Linked DNA regions of Homo sapiens: region 2 is linked to region 1. The links are contacts of gene promoters, found by promoter capture Hi-C in human tissues and cell types (Jung and others, 2019). All regions are on one chromosome and are shown on one strand. The core of a region is centred on a gene start or on the middle of the fragment in contact, and the rest is flanking DNA. Distances in the headings are between cores, read along the strand shown.

Region 1 (5,161 bases), core at 1,884-4,383:
CTAGGGGGAGGAGGTGGGAGAGGAGAGGAGGAAGGGAAAAGAGAGGACACGTGTTGTACAAAACATGTTTTCATCACGCTCTCCCTGGGTGCCCTGGTCCCCAAGCCCTGACAGCACTTCCATGCCTTAATGATGTCTTTGGGGGCTGCAACACAGCTCCCCCACCACCCCCTATAGTCATCTGCCAGACACCTCTGAGCATGGCATAGGACATCCCCCACACCACCAGATTTGGGCATGGGGAAATGACCTATTCAGTGTCCTGATGCCGGAGGGTTGGGAGGGGGTGAGGGTGAAAATTAGGGTGGGGCAATTTTCATCCTCACCACTGTCCGCCCCCCCAGCATCAGGGCACTGAATAAGTCATTTCCCCATGACTTTCAGGACAGGTGGGACAGATATCTGCATCCTTTTCCTCTCCTCATAATCTCTCCTTTTGGTCTTTGCTCTGGGATGAGGGGAGCAAACAAAGCCTGGTACTAGGGCCCCCAAGATATCATTTCTCCAAGTTGCCAGGGTGACAAAGTAGAGCAGCCACAAACAGAGCAAAGCCTAGAAATAGGGATGACCCAAGGGAAAGAGGAATGAGGGGAGCCCCCTCCACCAGTTTCCAGAGTGGGAAGCCCTCTTCCCAAGCCTCCTCCTGGAATCTCTGGACAGAAAGCTGGCTCTGTTGCAAGCTGGGGAGTGGAGGGTGGGGAGAAGAATCTGAAGCCCTCACAATGCCCCTCTTCCCTGTCCCCCAATCTGCTGCTGCTGTTTGGTTTGACTTCCAAACTGCTGCAGTGAACAGACCCCAGTCACTGGGTCCTGGGGAGGGGCGGTAGAGGGGGCGGGGGTGGAAGCAGTGGCAATCCCAAGGGGAGGGGCCGGCATAGGGCGGGTCTTCCTGGGCATCGCTGCTTGGCTGCTGTCGTCGGCTGGGGACGAGGAGGCCGCCAGAAGGGAGGAGCTACAGTTACCAAGACGGATGGATAGACAAACGCCCACCAGAGACAAAGACCCGGGCAGACAGACAGACAAACCAAGACAAAGGGAGGGCAGAGACAGTTGGAATTCTGACTCCCTCTGTTTTCAGAGGCTACCCCAAGTGTTTTGTCCCCCGATTTAGGCTTCCCTGGCCCCATTTGCTACCTAGATGCACTGTCTCAGAGCTCCAGCTGTAGATCTTTGGGACCAACCCTAAGCCCCTCTACAGAAGGAGAAGGGAAGAGTTCAGAGAGATGATACTCAGCAGGGAGAGGAGAGTGTCACGGGTGGTGCCTGGTTCTGTGTCAGAATGCCTGGCCAAGGAGGGAGTGGTGCCCTTGCCTGGTTCATGAGGACAGGAGGCTCATTCACTGTAAACCAAGTACAGATGTGCTGGAAGGGGGAGGGGGAAATTAGGGCCACATTCCCAAACCACAACTGGGCCCGCCCTCCTCCCACCAGCCACCACTAGGGCAGGGCAGGAGGGGTTAACTTTGCAGCCTCTTGGCAGGAGCCCTGCCACACAGGCGGGGCGCCATCCCACCCCAGCCTGGACGCCTGGGTCCAACTCCCTGACACCCGCCCCTCCCACACTGCTGAGAGCTGCTCCCAGGGTAACCAAGCAAAGTCAACAGCAGCTAGGCCACCTGGGGACGGGACCCTGGAGTATCTATTCCTAGCTCTTCCTATCCCTGGAGTGAAAGAGAGGGCTTGTCTGCACCCCCATTGCCATCTCCCATTCCCTGAGGTAACCACAGCATGCCTCTTCTTTCCCCCATCTCCTTCACCTGACTTTGGCTACCAAAAGCAGCCTTTCCCAGGAGGGAGGACACCTGGCCCCCAGGGGGGAGCAAGGACAAAGCCAAGTAATTCCAGTATGGAAAATGTGACGTGACCCAGGAGTCTGTGTCCCAGGTCCTGGTCACCCTGCGAGCATTGCTGGGGAAGGTACTTTGGGTATGTCTGTCCAGCCTATCAGCCTAGCTCAGACTCTCCCCTTCTCCTCTTTCTCCCTCCCAACTCCAGTCCCCATGGGAGTGTTTGGGATCCGTGCACAGAGCTTGGACTGCAGACCCATTCTTTTCTCTCCCTCTGTCCTCAGTAGAATGCAGAGTGAAACCACTGGGTTCTCTCACTCTAGGGTTGAGAGTCTGTCTATGTTGAAGCAGATAATGCCCCCATCAGACACAGACACTCACTCTCGGCACTGGCATGCGCACGCGCTTGCACAGACACACACACACACACACGCACACACACACACACCCGGAGTCAACAGCATTCATGGCACATCTACCAGGCAGGCAGGCAGGCAGGCCGGTGCTGGCTAGGGCAGACACACACCCTCTGCCTGGGCTTTCTCTCTCACACCCAGCCCAAGGCTCCTCCCACTCCCAGCCACAGTTCCTCCTGCCCTCCTCTCCAGCCTCTCCCCTTCCAAATCCAGGCCTAAAGGTGGGGGACAACTGGCAGCCAGGGACCCAGGCGCCCTAACTCCTGGAGCTTACTCCAGGCAAGATGACAGGGAAGATGTCTGTGAGCCCTGGCCTCAGCACCCCCAGCAACAGCCACTAGTCAACCAGTTTGCTCCTGGGACCAAAGGACTGAGGTGGGCTAGGGGAAGGGAGAGGCTACTTGGATCTGCAGGTGAAGGCTGAGCAAAGAGTAAGGGCAGGAGCATCTATTCTAGATCTGGCATACTCCTGCCCGGCCAATCCAGCACTGGGAGGGAGTGGGTACCGCCCCATTGCCTACCCTGGGGAGGCGCCAGAGACTGGCCTCGCAAGAGTCACAGCCTGGCCACAGACAACTCAACTAGTCCCCCCAAAAGGCAGAAAGGAGAAAAGTGCCAGAGAGAAAAGGTTGGCATCACGGGGCCAGGACACTGACCTCCTCTGCCAGCCGTGCCCGGCCTCCCAGAGGATGGAGTCACGGAAGCCTAGCAAATGGGAAGGGCAGAGACCCAGGCGTCCCGGGCCGCCCCGCCCAGTCCCCCTCCCGCCCACCCATCCCTCCGCCCCCCAGCCCCAGGGCACAGAGGAGGGAGCCGGGCAGGGGCAGGCAGGGGAGGGAGGAGCGAGGGCGGGAGGGGGAGGAGGGAGTTGGGCAGGGAGGGAGGTTGGGGGGGGGGTGGGGAGGGAGAAAAAGAAAGAAAATATTTTCCGTGTCCCCGCCTGCAGAGTCAGTGTGCGGTTTGGGAGAAAATGTGTCGGATATTTTGGGGCGGTCACGTGGGCGGGCGGGCTCCGAGAGGCCCCGGGACAGTCCCAGCCTAGAGCCGTGCCCCCCCAGGAGCCCCCCAGTACGGCGAGCCCCGGACATTGCGACGCTCCATCCAAGAGACTGCCCGACGCCGGGACCTCGGGGCTCCGCCGCCTCCCTTCCCCCTCCCACTCCAGGTGAGTCAGGCGGGGAAGCAGGCTCGCCCGCCCCGTCGCCTGGGTCCTCCGGCGAGGCGGCTGGGGGAGGGGGCGCGGAGGAGCTGCACGGGCGAATGCCCTCCCGAGGCTGGCCAGGCTGGCCGCCGGGCTTGAGGGGGGCTTCTTGCCCCGACCCAGGCCAGTCCTGCTGTGGGAAGGGAATGGGGAAGATTTTAACAGGCTGAGGATGGGCTGGGTCATCTGCCCTTCATTTTGGTGCATAGCAGAGGACAGCATTTGGGGAAGTCTTCAGCCAGGGGGCATTCCTCCTTATATTTTTGTGCTGGGAATGTGAGAGAAGACAGGGTTTCCTCTCGCGGGGAAAGACTACCACCCCCTTACCCCCGGGCTCTGAGGGGTAGATTTGATGTTCCATGCTGGTCCAAGTTCCTCCCTCCCCAGTGGAATGGGACAGCTTGGACATCAGAAGGCAAGGAAAACGTCCAGAGGCAAGTGAGCCTGGCCCTCCGCGTCCAGGAGTTCCGAAGGACTGGTGCATAGGATAGGGATCTGTGAACTTTCCTTGAAGCGCTGGATTCCCTCCCACACGTTCCCAGCCCAGGTGCGAGCCTTGGCTCCCTCCAGCCAAGGTGGGGGGCACCTCTGGAGTATTCTTGAGGGAAGCCCAAATGGAACAAAGAAAGAGCAGGAAGACCGGGACAGGGACCCAGGAGTGCTGGTCCCAGAGTTCCACTGACGCTGCCTCTCTGTCTTTAGCAGCTACGGCCCAGTTCCCTCAACCTGACCCAGTATGTAGAAGCCAGTCTCTGCAGGCGGCCAGCGGGTAAGAAGATGCTTGGTTGTTAGTGGTGGTGGGGGCAGGGGAGCCTGAGTAGGAGGTCTTCAGGGCAAGAAACTGAGATGACTGTCCCGCTTTAGGGCTCTGGTCCTGGGCAGCTGGAATCCCAATCCTCAAGTCTGAGGCTTCTGCCCTTAGGGTCAGATGCTGAGTTGGGGTCAAGGACCATAGCCAGCATCTCATATCCTTGAGGCAAGTAGAGAGAAGACAGGGGAGTGGGGGTAGTGTGTGCAGGGAGCCTGGAGCTTGGGTATCCCATATAGACAGACATACACACACACACACACACACACACACACACACACACACACACACACGCACTGTGGCCTACAGCCTAGTAGGCAGCATGGGGCACGCCCCCCCACACCCCGGCACACCCCCACCCCTGGCTCAGAAAGCCACCTAACTGGCACCTCCAGTTCCCCCCTCTGCCCCACCCTGTCCATGCCCTCTGATGCCCACACACATTCCACTGGCATTGCCTGCCTGCCTCCTGGGCACTGCCCCTCCCTGGGGCTAGTAGGGTGGAGGGAGGGCACCTGGGGATGAGAGGTGGAGACTCAAGGGTCTGGACTCCCCCAGGGATGGCACAATGCCAAGGAAGCCTGGCCCACTGCTGCCTCCTGGGGAGCAGGCTGGGGGCCCAGGCTAGAGCAGAGGATGCCTGGGTTCTCTGCCCAGGCTGGAGATGGGGTCATGGAAAAAGGTGGTCGTGTTTATACAGAGGGGAGGGGGGCAGCGGGTGGAGAGTGGCCGACAAGAGCAGCTTTGTTCCAGGCTCTGGAGCGGGCAGGGCGACAGGGAAACACACCCCCCTCCATCCGGCAGCCCCCTTCATCCATGCCCTCCCCTCAACTCCACCTCAGCTCTAAGAGAAGCAGCTTTGTAAGAGCCCCTCTCCCCTAGTCTGTCATCCCCGCTGCCCCACCATTTGAGATGGCATCTTAGTAGAGGAAGAATGTTCTCTACTTTC
Region 2 (5,161 bases), core at 1,428-3,927, 42 kb before region 1:
CTCCTCTGTTTAACAAACGGCAGTGGGCTCCCACTAGGAATCATTTCCAAAGCCCTGACCATGGCCTATAAGGCCCTGTGTGATCTGGCCGCTTCCCACTTTGACCACCTTCATTCCATATGGTTCCCCATCCTATACCGCTATTCTACTACCCCCAGCATGCCGGCTTTCTCAAGCATGGTCCCAAGTTTGTTCCCACTTTGCAACCTTTGTATTTACTACTCTCTCTGCAAGGAATTCTCTTCCCTGAGTTTTTTGTTTGTTTTTTTTTAGACAGTCTCACTCTGTTGCCCAGGCTGGAGTGCAATAGCGTGATCACGGTTCACTACAGCCTTGATCTTCCAGGCTCATGTGATCCTCCCACTTCAGCCTCCTAACCAAGTGTAAATAGACTATAGGTTCATGCCACCACATTCGGCTAATATTTTTTAAGTAGAGTCAAGGTCTCGCTTTGTTGCCCAGGCTCCCTGAGATCTTTACAAAGTAGATTCCTTCACATCCTCAGGTCTCATCTATCACTTCTTCAAAAAGGGTTTTCCTAAATAACCCACCTCAAGTTGCTCCCTCTTTTAGCAAATCAGTTTAATTGTCTTCATAGAGCATACGTGAAGGCTGGGCGCACTGGCTCATGCCTGTAATCCTAGCACTTTGGGAGGCCAAGGTGGAAGGATCACTTGAGCTCAGGAGTTCAAGACCAGCCTAGGCAACATAGTGAGACCTTGTCTCTATTAAAAAAAAAAAAAAAAAAAGGAACAGACACAAAATGCAAAATGTACTTTTTAAAAATATCTCCCCAAGTAGAATATAAGCTCCATGAAAGCAAGACCACTGTCACCACTATACCCCCCAAGTAGCACAGTGGCTAGCATACAGTGGGCACTCAATGAATAACTAATGAATGAAGGAATTAGTATTTTTCAGACATAAAGATGAAAGGACATGACCATGAGTACCAAAAGCCACCCTATCCATGGGAGAAACATGGTTGACCCCCTCCCCAACTCACTTTTTTTTTGAGATGGAGTCTCCCTCTGTCACCCAGGCTGGAGTGCAGTGGCACGATCTCGGCTCACTGCAACCTCCGCCTCCCGGGTTCACGCCATTCTCCTGCCTCAGCCTCCCGAGTAGCTGGGACTACAGGCACCCGCCACCACGCCCAGCTAATTTTTGTATTTTTAGTAGAGATGGGGTTTCACCGTATTAGCCAGGATGGTCTCGATCTCCTGACCTCATGATCTGCCCGCCTCGGCCTCCCAAAGTGCTGGGATTACATGTGTGCTGGGATTACATGTGTGAGCCACTGTGCACGGCCAATGCCCAGCTAATTTTTGTATTTGTAGTAGAGACGGGGTTTCACCATGTTGGCCATGGTCTCAAACTCCTGACCTCAAGTGATCCACCCGCCTCGGCTTCCCAAAGTGCTGGGATTACAAGCATGAGCCACTGCGTCTGGCCCTCAACTCACTTTAGCTGTAGCTCCTTGTCTCCAGCCCTGGCCGCATCCATCTTGACCCGAACCCAGAAAGTGACTGGCTCAGCCATGTGTTCAGGGCTACAGGGTTGCAGGGCTGCCAGCCACAAAATCACCATCTTGCAGCCCTGGGCCTGTTTACCCAGTTTCTTCAAACTCTCTACTTGTAGCCGGAAGCACCTGTGCAACTGACCAGAGAAAGGGAACAGACCAAACTGGAGAGGAACCAGTGAGTGTGTATGGTGGAAGGGGATATGCATGCAATAGGTACATACACCACATGAGGGGGCGGGGTTGGCAGGTGGGCCTCCTGAGCCACACCCACCCAAGGCAGGAGACACCTAAGAATGAAATACTCTGAGTGCCTTCAACTCAGAGGCTGCAATCCACTCCACCCCTATGTTCATCATCCACACCCTTGAAAACCTGCTTCTCCTGTAATCCTTCTCAGCAAATGGCACTGCCTTCTCCTGAGTAAGAAATGTGGGGCCATCTCTGATGTTCCCTTCTCTCGCTCTCCCTCCCGCCAGTCACCTACCAGGTTAATCCTTGGCTTCTCGCACCGATCCACTGCATTCCATCCCTCGTGCAGCTGCTTCAGTTCAGCCCACCCTTCCCTGCCTAGAATACTATAGCAGCCTGATTACCCGGTCTTTTCTCCTGCACTCCATTCATCACAGCGAAGTCAGGGAAATCCAAAATGCCTGTCTGCTGTCATGCCTCCACTTAAATCCTTTAGAGGCTTATCATCTCAGTTAAGATGAAACCCAAGCCCCTCTATGACTCATCTTGCTTGCCAATCCCGCCAATGCATCAGTTCACAGGTATTCTTGCTTAAGAACACTGGTTCTTGCCCAGCGCGGTGGCTTGCGCCGGTAATCCCAGCACTTTGGGAGGCCGAGGCGGGTGGATCATGAGGTCAGGAGTTCAAGACCAGCCCGGCCAAGATGATGAAACCCCCGTCTCTACTAAAAATACAAAAATTAGCCAGGCATGGTGGCGCATGCCTATAATCCCAGCTACTCAGGAGGCTGAGGCAGAGAATTGCTTGAACCCAGGAGGTGGAGGTTGCAGTGAGCCGAGATCGTGCCACTGCACTCCAGCCTGGGTGACAAAGCAAGAGCAAGACTCAGTCTCCAAAAAAAAAAAAAAAAAAAAAAAAAAAAAACCAAAAAACCAAGAACCCAGGTTCTCACTCTCCTTGCTCAAAGGACCACCTGGGGGATCTTTGAAAATATTCAGATGTGAGATGGAGTCTTGCTCTGTAGCCCAGGCTGGAGTACAGTAGCACAATCTCGGCTCACTGCAAACTCCACCTCCTGGGTTCAGGCAATTCTCCTGCCTCAGCCTCCAAAGTAGCTGGGATTACAGGCACATGCCACCACGCCTGGCTAATGTTTGTATTTTCAGTAGAGACGGGGTTTCACCATGTTGGACAGGCTGGTCTCAAACTCCAGACCTCAGGTGATCCACCTGCCTCAGCCTCCCAAAGTGCTGGAATTATAGGCGTGAGCCATCACGCCCGGCAAACACTAGAGATTCTGATGCAATTAACTCGGGGCAGACATTAGAATTTTCTTAAAGGTCACTCAGGTGATTCTAATGTGCAGCTTGGCTGGAAACCAGTAGCTTAGGACCAGGCTAAATATAAAAAGTGAGTCAGGCCGGCTGCGGTGGCTCACACCTGTAATCCCAGCACTTTGGGAGGCTGAGGCAGGCGGATCACCTGAGGTCTGGAGTTTGAGACCAGCCTGGCCAACCAAAATGGTGAAACCCCGTCTCTACAAAAAATACAAAAATTAGCTGGGCGTGGTGGTGGGCACCTGTAATCCCAGCTACTTGGGAGGCTGAGGCAGGAGAATTGCTTGAACCTTTGCTGAGGCAAAGGTTGCAGTGAGCCAAGATTGTGCCACTGCACTCCAGCCTGGGCGACAGAGCGAGACTCGTCTCAAAAAAAAAAAAAAAAAAAAATGAGTCAACAGTAAGTAACAGTACAGTGAGGTTTGGGAAACACTGCTCCAGATACTGGTGTCAACATGCTGCTATTAACCTCCCACTCCAAGGCAGGGTGCTGGTGAGGCCCTTCCCCGCTCCCCCCGCTCCCCAACCACATAAGCTCCTTTCCTGCATCTCTCATTCCCTTGTACCTTCTCAGGAGGCACCTCGGGATAAGTGCCTGGCTTCACCAAACCCAGGTGCTGACAGAGCGGCTCAGAGATGGCACAGGCCTCGGCATAGAGCTTGTGACTATAGAAGCTGTAGGCCAAATTACTGGTGTAAGAAGCTGCAGGGGAGAAAAGGCACAATTGACCATAGGAAAGGCTCCCACCACCCTCTCCTCCTGGAGAGGCAGCAGAGATCAGCTGGATCTGTGGTCAGTTCAGCAGCTTCCAGATCAGACAGGAACCCCTACTGCTAGGAATGGGGAAGGGGCGGCTCTCCCCTTCCTGCCCCAAATAGGCCCATGCCCTTCACACCACTCAGCCCATCTGCACTCATTTTACAAACGAGACCCCCTCCTGCCTCAGCACTGGCTGTTTCTTCTGCCAGGGATGTTCTTTTCCAGGAACCCACATGGCTGACTCCCTCACATCCTCCAAGCCTTTGCTCATGTCACCCTCTCAATGAGGTCTACCCTGACCACCTGATTTAAGGTGGTAACTTGCCCCCCGTCATGCACCTTAGACTCCCAATTCCCTTTCTTATCCTGCTCTACTTTTCCTTTCCCCCACATTTCTTATCACGTTCTAATATGTTGATAATTCACTTATTTACTGAATCTGTTTATCTTTTCCCCCCAAACTAGAACGTGGCTCCATGAGGGAAGGAAACTTTGTTTTGCTTACCGACACATCCAAGTACTCCAAATAGTGCGTTGCACACAGTGAGTACTCAACAAATTTTTTTTTTTTTTTTTTGAGACAGAGTCTTGCTCTGTCGCTCAGACTGGAGAGCAGTGGCACGATCTTGGCTCACTGCAAGCTCCACCTCCCGGGTTCACACCATTCTCCTGCCTCAGCCTCCTGAGTAGCTGGGAGTACAGGCGCCTGCCACCACGCCCGGCTAATTTTTTGTATTTTTAGTAGAGACGGGGTTTCACTGTTAGCCAGGATGGTCTCGATCTCCTGACCTCGTTATCCGCCCGCCTCGGCCTCCCAAAGTGCTGGGATTACAGGCGTGAGCCACTGCGCCCGGCAACAAATATTTGCTGAATAAATGATAATAACTTATTTATGCAGCTTCTTGGCCATCAACATAGATGACTGGGAGAAAATAAAGTCAGTCTTCAGTACTCTGTGGGAAGAATTCTCCTTTTTTTTTGAGATGGAGTTTCGCTCTTGTTGCCCAGGCTGGAGTGCCCTCTTGCCCAGGCTGGAGTGCAGTGGTGCAATCTTGGCTCACTGCAACCTCCACCTTGCAGGTTCAAGCGACTCTCCTGCCTCAGCCTACCAAGTAGCTGGGATTACAGGCATGCACCACCTTGCCTGGCTAGTTTTCTATTTTTAGTAGAGACAGGGTTTCAGGGAAGCCAAGGTGGGCAGATCACTCGAGTCCAGGAGTTCAAGACCAGCCTGGACAATATGGCCAGACATCATCTCTACAAAAAATACAAAAATTAGCCAGGCATAGTGGTGCGCGCCTGCAGTCCCAGCTACTTGGGAGGCTGAGGCAGGAGAGTCGCTTGAACCT

Evidence for each region. Contacts are between HindIII fragments. The study calls those that stand out against the background at their distance.
Region 2: a fragment that was not itself captured here is called in contact with the fragment with the promoter of RARG in region 1 in 3 of the 25 tissues and cell types used here (mesenchymal stem cells, neural progenitor cells and ovary).

Annotation. Positions count from the first base shown.
Region 1 is chr12:53,230,181-53,235,341 of GRCh38, reverse strand. It overlaps RARG (retinoic acid receptor gamma), which reads left to right and starts at 3,133. Exons shown (of 10, transcript NM_000966.6): 1 at 3,133-3,368; 2 at 4,107-4,173. RefSeq lists silencers at 2,948-2,997, 3,318-3,447. The HindIII fragment of the contact is 27,501 bases long and covers 1-5,161 here.
Region 2 is chr12:53,271,315-53,276,475 of GRCh38, reverse strand. It overlaps ESPL1 (extra spindle pole bodies like 1, separase), which reads right to left. Exons shown (of 31, transcript NM_012291.5): 6 at 3,619-3,755; 7 at 1,466-1,659. Among named protein-coding and RNA genes, the nearest start is that of ESPL1, 5.6 kb to the right of the region's middle. RefSeq lists an enhancer at 1-232. The HindIII fragment of the contact is 8,629 bases long and covers 1-5,161 here.